Regions from separate parts of the Homo sapiens genome. Here regions 1 and 3 are each linked to region 2. Evidence: promoter capture Hi-C in 16 types of primary human blood cells and fetal thymus (Javierre and others, 2016). All regions are on one chromosome and are shown on one strand. Each heading gives the region's core, a stretch centred on a gene start or on the middle of the fragment in contact. The rest is flanking DNA. Distances are from core to core; before and after follow the strand shown.

The links. The method cuts DNA at HindIII sites, captures the fragments that hold promoters and counts their contacts. A CHiCAGO score of 5 or more calls a contact.
Region 1: a contact is called between a fragment that was not itself captured here and the fragment with the promoter of ZNF503-AS2 in region 2, in 1 of 17 cell types (naive B cells). The highest score is 5.4, in naive B cells.
Region 3: a fragment that was not itself captured here is called in contact with the fragment with the promoter of ZNF503-AS2 in region 2 in 1 of 17 cell types (naive CD8 T cells); the score reaches 6.7 in naive CD8 T cells.

What each region holds. Positions count from the first base shown.
Region 1 is chr10:76,968,193-76,971,031 of GRCh38, forward strand. It overlaps KCNMA1 (potassium calcium-activated channel subfamily M alpha 1), which reads right to left. Exons shown (of 28, transcript NM_001161352.2): 20 at 1,782-1,875. All of the region lies in intron 2 of KCNMA1-AS1 (KCNMA1 antisense RNA 1), which reads left to right. Among named protein-coding and RNA genes, the nearest start is that of KCNMA1-AS1, 82 kb to the left of the region's middle. The HindIII fragment of the contact is 2,271 bases long and covers 453-2,723 here.
Region 2 is chr10:75,399,744-75,402,844 of GRCh38, forward strand. It overlaps ZNF503-AS2 (ZNF503 antisense RNA 2), which reads left to right and starts at 1,785. Exons shown (of 2, transcript NR_024421.1): 1 at 1,785-2,518. It overlaps ZNF503 (zinc finger protein 503), which reads right to left and starts at 2,021. Exons shown (of 2, transcript NM_032772.6): 1 at 1,362-2,021; 2 at 1-631. The coding sequence starts at 1,676. RefSeq lists an enhancer at 1,023-1,523. The HindIII fragment of the contact is 15,649 bases long and covers 1-3,101 here.
Region 3 is chr10:77,124,626-77,127,744 of GRCh38, forward strand. The region is part of intron 5 of KCNMA1 (potassium calcium-activated channel subfamily M alpha 1); the gene reads right to left. Among named protein-coding and RNA genes, the nearest start is that of KCNMA1-AS2, 15 kb to the right of the region's middle. The HindIII fragment of the contact is 191 bases long and covers 1,632-1,822 here.

The DNA of each region.
Region 1 (2,839 bases), core at 338-2,837, 1.6 Mb after region 2:
TTTGTGTAGAAGTATGTTACCCTGGATTTGGTAATTTGATGTTTTGCTGAAGGCTACGACTTAAAAAAGCCTCCACCTCATACAGAAGACCTGTCATCTTGGTACCCAAGAGCCAACAGAATAAAGAAGTACCCTTAAGCAGCAAAACTTTGACACAGCTTTGAAGCATATGAAAACAGTATAACTCCTCAGAATTATTATTACTCAAGATCAAAGAAATGAGCCATACTTTACATAGCAAACAGGGACAGGGAATTTGGCTCCAAAGGTTTCAGATTTTTCAGACTTCTCTTTATTTATTTATTTGCTTCTCTAAATTTAGGTGAAGGAAAGTGGCTGGGCTTTTCTCTACTTTAAATGGGAATAACTATTAGAATTAGATAAGGTGATTACCTAAAGGTGAGTAAATAGGAAATGAATGCTAGCATGACACTGGCATCATAAAAACGAAAAGCTTGGCAGTTGGCACATTTTATTCCTCCTCATAAACTGTAAACAAGCATGCAAATCAGCCAAACCCAAGGAAGGCTGGGTGAAGTGGAAGGCAGAGAACTTTTAAGGAAACATTTAACAGGAATAGATGGTGATATGGAAAAGGAGTTGGGCAGGGTGAGTCTTCCACGGAAAACCTGTGTCCTCAACCACATGAAGAAAGACTGCCCTTGCCTATTTTCCAGAAAGGTGGATGTGGAGGGCCAGGAACATGCAAATGTTATTGAATATGGGGAGTGGAAATCACCACTATTCTATTTCAAAAATCAAAGCCGGTGGCCATGAAAAGACAAAACTAATGTCAAGATGGCAGGCATTTCCAGAGCAGAAACCACATAGGGTGAGCAGTGCAAATCTGAAATCACTCCTGTTTCATTTGGGTGGTAGAGAGTCAGGATGTCGGAGGAAAAAAATGCTGGGATTGGCAGATGAATTGAAGACAAAAAGGGGAGATAAAAGACAGATAGGCCAAGAAGAAGAAACTGCAGAACGCTGTTGAAATTTGACTTCACTTGCTATTTACCAGAGGAAGCCATAGTCAAGAAAGAAGTGAGGGAGAAAGAGAGAGAAGGAGGAAGGGAGGGAGGGAGGGGGAAGAAGGGAAGGAAGGAAGGAGGGAAGGAAGGAAGGAAGGAAGGAAGGAAGGGAGGAAAGGAGGGAACATGTACATGCATGCTGTATTTCATAATTAATATTGCTTTTAGCCTGAGCAGAACTGGATTACTTTTGAACTTTGCTTTGGCAAGTCCACAGATTATTAGACTTTTTCTTATCAGTCAAAATCAATTAACAGAAATTTGATTTCAATCGACAGGATAAAAGGAAGGTAATCTTCAGGTTCATTTTTGATTGTGATGATACATCTCACATATGGCCTTAAGTACAGAAAACAGTCCTCGGAGGGACTCCAGCAGAAAGAGACTGCCGCAGGCAAACTAACCACACGAGTTTCTCTGATTGGTTACCGCCATCATTAGTGCCACTGCTGTTTAGGAACTACACACAGACAGGACATGGTGACAGCTAAGACTTTAAAGCCTATGTATTTTTCAAACAGCTTTTCAAACTGTTTTTCATGACAGAATTTTTTCAGCTCTATCATTAACTGCTGACAAGCTGACAGAATAAATACTCCAGCCTTTAAGAAGCCATCTAACGATCTCGCTCCCCTCCCCCACCCCGGGCTTGCTGGGGAGGGGAGACTCTGGGCCTGGCAGGGTGAGGAGAGGGCGAGGGGAGGAAGAGAAGGGCTAAGAGGGAAACCGTGGGCAACCAGCCCCTCTCCTTACCTCATCAGCTTAGGCGAGGTGTTGGGTGAGTTCCGCATGCCTCCATTCCGTTGCTTTTTTTTTGGTGATAGTGTTGACGGCTGCTCATCTTCAACTGGAAATACAGGCAGCTCATGAGATTATGAACAGTTTGAGGGCAGACTGTGCAATACAGGCAAAATATCAAAGGACACACACTCAAGGCTCAGTCACTCACTAGGAATTCATGGCTGTCTTTTAGGACCCAATGACAAAGACCAAATGTGTTAGTCAAAGAGGCCGGCTTAGAGAAGGTGAAGGCAACACCTCTTTACACTCCAGCCTTTGAACATACACTTTAAACAGACTAAAACAGTTTGTAAACACCCTGCCATAAGAAAAAAAAAAAAAAAAAAGAAATCATGATTTATCTGTATACCAAAAAAAATACTTATCATTATTCTTAGAGTTAATTTTGGTTACTTTGCTTTGCCCAGTAATAGACTGCGTTTTGTTGTAACCAAAATCAGAAATAAAGTTGTATTTGAAATGTCAGCATAACTGCCAGCCTGCTGCTTCTCCAGATGAACCAACTTAGCTGGTTCCTAACCCCTGCATACCAGAGAAAGAGCGTTGAAAAGAGGCAAGGATTCAAGGCCTTGACAGCCAATGTTTCAATCAGATCGGGGCACATTGGTGCATGCTGGCTCAATAATCCCCAGCCCAACTCAGCTCTTATCCCTCCAACTGCCAGGAGGGAGGGCTTGTGGGGCTGTGCCAACGGGGTCCTTTTTCAACCCATGAAGACAGGAGCACCGGGGCTGGTGAGGTTGGAGGAGAGCCCCGGAATGAAGGAGGAGGTTGCCATTGAATGAAATCTCTGATGATGCAGCAGCGGGGCAGGGATGGAGGGCAGCACAGGGGATTGGAAACCAAAAGCTGTTTTCCAAATGTCTAAACCACACAGATTGCTAAGCAATGTGAAGCTTCACTTAGAAACACCACAGCACACTCTACTGCTCTTGCCCAAAGACACCCACTAATAAGCTTTGCAGATGTATTAGCCTGCATCATGCTTCTTTTTAAGAGAACTGCTTGAT
Region 2 (3,101 bases), core at 535-3,034:
CCGATGAACCGCCGCAGTCCGAGCCCAGAGCCTTGCCTCCCGGGCCCCCATCCGGATGCTGGTTCACATCCACATTAATCCCGCCGCCGCAGCTAATCCGGCCGTGTGCCAGCCCCGTGGGTCCCCCTTCGGCCGAGGCGCCCCCGGTGCCCTTGCCACCGCCGCCCACGTCGGTGTCTTTCTTGTCGTCCTTGCCCTCCGGGGCACCCCCGGCCGAGGACAGCATACCTCCCGGCGAGCAGGCCGAGGCGCTGGAGCTCGGGCTGCCTGTCCTGGGCGTGAATGGCTGGCAGGTGGCGCTCGGTACCCGGAATCCCGACTTCTCCGACGAAACACCCCCGCCGCCGCCCCCGCCACCGCCACCGCCTCCACCGCCGCCTCCCGGCTCCTTCTTATCCGAGCCGGGTTTGGAGTACGGCTTGAAACTCGACTTGTCCTCCACGCCGATGTCGCTCAGCTTCAGGGGGCCCGATTTGGTGTCCTTGTCGCCCGCAGCACCGCCGCCGGCACCGCCCGCGCCGCCCCCGTTGGAGGCAACCGAGGAGAGTTTGGAGGAGGGCGAGGGGTCGGGCTTCCCGATCTGCGAACATGTTTGCGCCAACAGCGCCAGCGGGCTCTTCTTGGCATCGAGCTGCGGGGTCAGACGATGGGGGGGGAGCGTCACACAGAGAAAGAAGTGGAAACCCTTTAGAATCCTGGCTTCTGGGGTTCAAATGCCTCTCCGCAACAGCCCACGAAGATCCTCCCAGCCCCAAGGCGCAATTCTAGGCGGCACCCCCTCTTCAACACCCACTCACAAACATTCTCGCCGTTGGGAAAGGCAGCAGATTGCTCCCCCCGCCCAACCACCACCCCCAGCAGCATCTTTCCTGCCCTCTCTGAGCGCTAACTAGATTTTTAAAGAGCAAAATGTTTTGGTTTTCGGTTCCTAGACCCAGAACTGTACCCCCTCCCCACAAACACTCCTTAATTCTTCAGAGTAAGGGCTCGGGCGGCTGGCGCCTCAGAGGCTGTGTGCACACACTGGCTTCTGCGGATACGAAGGACGGCGACTTTGGAACCGTATTTCAGACCTCCGCCTGCCTTCGGTGCCGAGTGAAGGGGCCTGGGTCGGGGTAGGGGCTTTCATATCGAAAGGAGAAACAAGTATTGGCAGCCTTGCTCCCTAGCATGCACGCCCCATTCCACTTCCTCCCCCTTTTCCGCCCTAGTTTTGAGGTACGGAAGCAGTAGCCTCTTCCCCCATTCGGGAGCTGAATCACTCCGACCCCCCCACCTCCGCCCAGATCCCGAGAAAAAGAAAGCCCTAGGGTGGCAGCCAGGGTAGTGGTCCCAGTGCGATCCAGAGAGAGGGTCCTTACCTCGATGGGGCTGACCGGCGTGGAAGGCAGGGGCTGCAGGTACTCGGGGTGCAAAATGTGGCCAGTTCGTGCCGTCAGCATCTTCAGCACCTTGATTGGCAGGCGGTTGGCCTGGCGCAGGGGGTCAGAGGGGGGCACGGCGTGCACAAAAGGCTTGGTGCTGCCGGCCGGGGACGAGCCTGGGCCGGGGCCGGAGCTATTTCCAGAGAGCGCGCTGGTCCAGGCAGGGTCTGCACCGCCGCCTCCGCCTCCGCCGCCGCCGCCGCCGCTGTGCTTACTGCTTCTTAGGGCAGAAAGCGAGGGCGCTGTGCTCATGACCCACCCGCGCGCATGGGAGCAGCGGGGGGGAGGGCTCCGGGAGGCGCGGGGCGGGCTCGGGGCTGCGCGCTCGCCCCGGGAGCAGGAGCAGCGGGAGGAGGAGGAGCTGGCGCGGCGGCCACGGGCGCCCAGCGCGCCTTCTCGGCGCCTGGAGCCAGACGCGAGTAATCCTGGGTGGCCCGCAGCGGAGCCGTGGCCGGGCTAGAGGAGCCGGCTGGACTGCGGGAGTGCCGGGCGGCTCGCGGTGTCCGCCTCGGGCTGCTCCCCTGCGCTGCGTTCTCGCGGCCCCGCGCCGGCGCTGCGCTCTGCGATGCGAGCCGCTGCGTGTCCAGCCGGGGCTCTGGCGAGGAAACTCACTTCAAAAGCAGCTGCACCAAGGGGGAGATTAAAGCCTTTGCCGCCTTCCAATCAAATGGGAGCCCGAGGTGATTGGAGGGTCAAGGGGATGTGACGCGTCCCGCGCCGCCGCCGCCGCCGCTGCCAGGACTCTCAGTGCCGGTTTTAATGGGCAGCTCCCTCTTCGCCGCCCCCCTGTGTGTCCCCTCCCTCGATTTCGCTGGGAGGACGAGATGGACATTTATTCTACGTTTGCCATCCGCCGCCTCCCTCTTTTTTCCTCCTCGTCGTTCTTCCTTTCCCCAGCTCGAAAATAAACTGAAACCTTCTTTTGAAGGGGGGTGCGCGTGAGGAACAGACTGCGGGGGGTGTCCAGAAGGAGCACCGGTGGGAGTGTGGACACCGGCCGGACTGTCAACTCCAGGGGCGAAGGGAACCTGCACACCCAGTGTTTTTTCCTTCGCAGTAATCGAGATCCCGCGCGGCGCAGCGCAGCCACCAGGGTAAGAAGGCAAGGTGGGGAGCCGGAGCTGGAAGAAGCCCGCCCGCCCGCTCTAATTTCCTCAGATTCCGCGGCGGAGAAACCAGAAGCTAGATGGGCAGTCGCAGCGGCGGCGGCTCAACACCGCGAGGAGCGCTGGGCTCTCCGCCCTTCCCGGCCACGTGACGCCCGGGGACGCGTAGATTGGGGCAGCAGCGGGGGTCACATGTTTCCTCTGTTTCACCCTCAGTCTGTCCCCCAACCCCCCATTCTTACTCTCCCACCCTGTTTTCCTCCCTCCCCCCCTTCTTTGGGCATCTCCACCCCTCCATCAATTGTCAATGTTCCTCGACCGCAATCAATCAGTTATTTGTCAGCTCTTGTCAATCCTCCCGTGATTTATGTCAGCTTTTGTTGCTGATTACAAGGCGGGTGCGACTTGAAGGGAAAAAGAGAGAGGGAGAGAGAGACGGAGAGGAAGGAGGAGATTGAGAGGGAACTGGAGGAGGGGAAAAGAGGAGCGGCCTCCTGGGATGGGGGTGGGGTGGGGGCTCTAAGAAAAAGAATGAAAGAGGCGCACGGTGTCAGGAAAATGAATAGCGAGA
Region 3 (3,119 bases), core at 477-2,976, 1.7 Mb after region 2:
ACAAGGGTGGCCTTTGCTTATTTGACTGCCTCATACTGGGCATTTTTATGGCACTGAGTTTCACTAATGCAAATGAGCCAATGAAGTTCTCCATAGGTTAAAAAAGTCAGTCTACATTTCATCCTCAGATCAAGCCAGACTATCTGGAGAAATGGTTGGTCTTTCAGGAATCATTCACAATAGCTTCCGTATTAGTCCGTTCTCACTCTGCTAATAAAGACATACCCGAGACTGGGTAATTTATAAAGGAAAGAGGTTTAATTGACTCAATTCCACAGGGCTGGAGAAGCCTCAGGAAACTTACAGTCATGGCAGAAGGGGAAGCAAACACATCCTACTTCACATGGTGGCAGGAAGGAGAAGTGTTGAGCATAAGAGGGAAAAGCCCCTTATAAAACCATCAGATTTCGTGAGAACTCACTATCACGAGAACAGCAGCATGGGGGTAACTGCCCCCATGATTCAATTACCTTCCACAGGGCCCCTCCTACAACATAGGGGTATTATGGGAACTACAATTCAAGATGAGATTTGGGTAGGGACACAGCCAAACCATATCAGCTTCCTAACCGCTTTCTGCCCTGGACCCCTTGTGTTCTCTGCTCAGAAGCCTCCAATGCCACCCATTCCACACAGAGTAAAAGTCAAAGTCTTTCAAAGGCCTAAAGCAACACCATCCCACCACCAGCACTATCTCCTTTTGGATCTGATGGCTTCCTACTGTCACTCCTACTACTGTCCGCTGATCTGGCAGATGTCTTCAGTGACACTTGAACACACAGGTATGCTACTGCCCCAGGGCCTCTGCACATGCAGCCTCTCTGCCTGGAATGCTGTTTGCCAGATGCCCACATGGCATACTCCCTCACCTCCTTTGGGTTCTTACTCAATGTCCCTTGATCAGCGTGACTTTCCCTGGCTACCCGACCTAAACATGCAACTCCTCCCACACCACCCGTGCAACTCCCTATCCTCTTTCCTGCTTCACTTTTCTCCTCAGCATGAAGCACTAGCACCTCGGTTATGTGGTTACTTTCTGCCTTCCTCTCTTTAGCATCAGCTCTATGAGGGGAGGAGCTGATGTCTGTTTTGTTCAGGGCTATATTTCCAGCATTGAACATAGTGTCTGGCATAAGGTGAAGGCTCAATAAATCCTTGTTTGAACTGAATGAGTGAATCAAAGTTTTGAGAAATAATTAGACGGCGGAGTTAAAGGTTAGATAATCCACATTCAGAATTCTGAGACTATATGTTGCCTACTAAAGGGAAAAGCCAGAAGCCCTGCGGGGTCCCCTGAGAGAGGTCAGGGCTGCACTCTTGGGAAGTAGAAAGTAGCCTCATCAGGGAAAAGCCTTAACGAATGACCACTCTGGCTATACCCAGAAAGAGCCCAGAAGACTACAGACAGCGACTTCAGGCTAAGAGAGGAGACCAAGATAAGAGAGGTGAGAGGGGGAACTCTTTGGTGACAATTATTCATCTTCTCTATTTTATAATATCTTTTATTATTTTTATTCTATAAAATCTCTGAAATAAATGATTTTCTAAGGTAACACAAAATAGCTATAATAGAGTTGTGAAGAAGAAAATGTGTATATACCAAAAGCCAGGAATTACATGCCCTCCCCAAAAGCTTCCAGGTTCAGAGAGTTTTACAAGTGAGATTTTTACAGTTTCAAAAAATAGTAACTTCTCTATCTATTCTCTATTATATGATCAATTCTTAAAAATGGACTTATCTGTGTTTTTCCATGCTCTGTATTGGTTTAGAAAGTTGGCATTACCTGGACACAAGTTCCCTTGCATTTTTTCTTAAATGGCAAGCTTATCACACTAATGACTAACAACAATAATCCTAAATAAAATACTAGGGTATCATATCCAAGACTGCATTAAATGAATAAAAGACATGAGCTATAGCAGATGCTGTAGGGTACAGCCCAAATCCCCTCTTCAGGGACCTTATTTGTCCTGGGCTCTTGAAGAGTGACCTGCTAAAGGCTCAGAGCTAGTCCCTTCATGAGAACTGCCCTCTGCTACAAGGAGCTGCCTCACCTGGGGCTACATCCCCTGTCAGTGGTGGTGCCCCCCACCCCCCCACCCCCCCCCCACCACCACACACAAATGCTGGCTGATGTAGGGACAAAGGTCAGCTGCCTTGCCTCAATTTGGGATACTTTTTCCTGTGGGATGGGTTGAGGCTTCCCAGGCAGCTGCAGCCAGCCTGAGTTCTCCACCCTTATTCCCTCACAGGCATGGGCATTAAATCCTACCCTGGTGATCTGCATACCAGAAGACCGAGCATTCTAAGAGTCCATGTGGGCATACTGGAGGCACTCAGTAAATGGTAATTTCATCATATGAAGAATTACAATAGCGTAGGAGTGTACACACGCCACAGAAAAGTCATCAAACTGGACTAGAAAGCCCAGAAACACACACACAAACACACACACACACACACACACACACACACACACACACACACACACACAGAGTACATATAGTGTTACTATTATTTTAAATTACTGGTGAAATGATGATGTTGACAATGACATTAATCTATTATTATTGATGATATCTAGTATGTTTATTTACTTACACACACTAAAACTTCTAACTATATCTTTTTTAAAAAATACGTACACAGAAGAAAATAGCTAAGGAGACACAAATGAGACAGTGTATCCAGCATAGTTTGAAAGCAACAGAGCCAAGTTTCACCACAAATGTGACAAACTCCACAAAGCCCAAGCTTCTAGCCACTGCCCTGTACAGACTTCAGCCAGTCATTTCCAATTCAGACATTAGGACTCAAGCACACACTTTCAAGACTTGTGATACATCTTACCAACTTGTCCTCACAATTTGCATTCCCTTCAGTATGCAAATGCTCTTTTGCCTGTATTCCCACTGGATTGAGTACAGTGATAGAGAAAATAGGAAGGAAGGAAGGAAGGAAGGAAAGAAGGCATGAAGGCAAGAAGGGAGAGAAGGAGAGAAGGCAGGAAGGCAGGAAGGCAGGAGGGGAAAGGGAGAGAACGAGGGTAAGAATCCCAATTTGAGGTCGGGCATGGTGGCTCATGCCTGTTATCCCAGCACTTTGGGAGGCTGAGGTG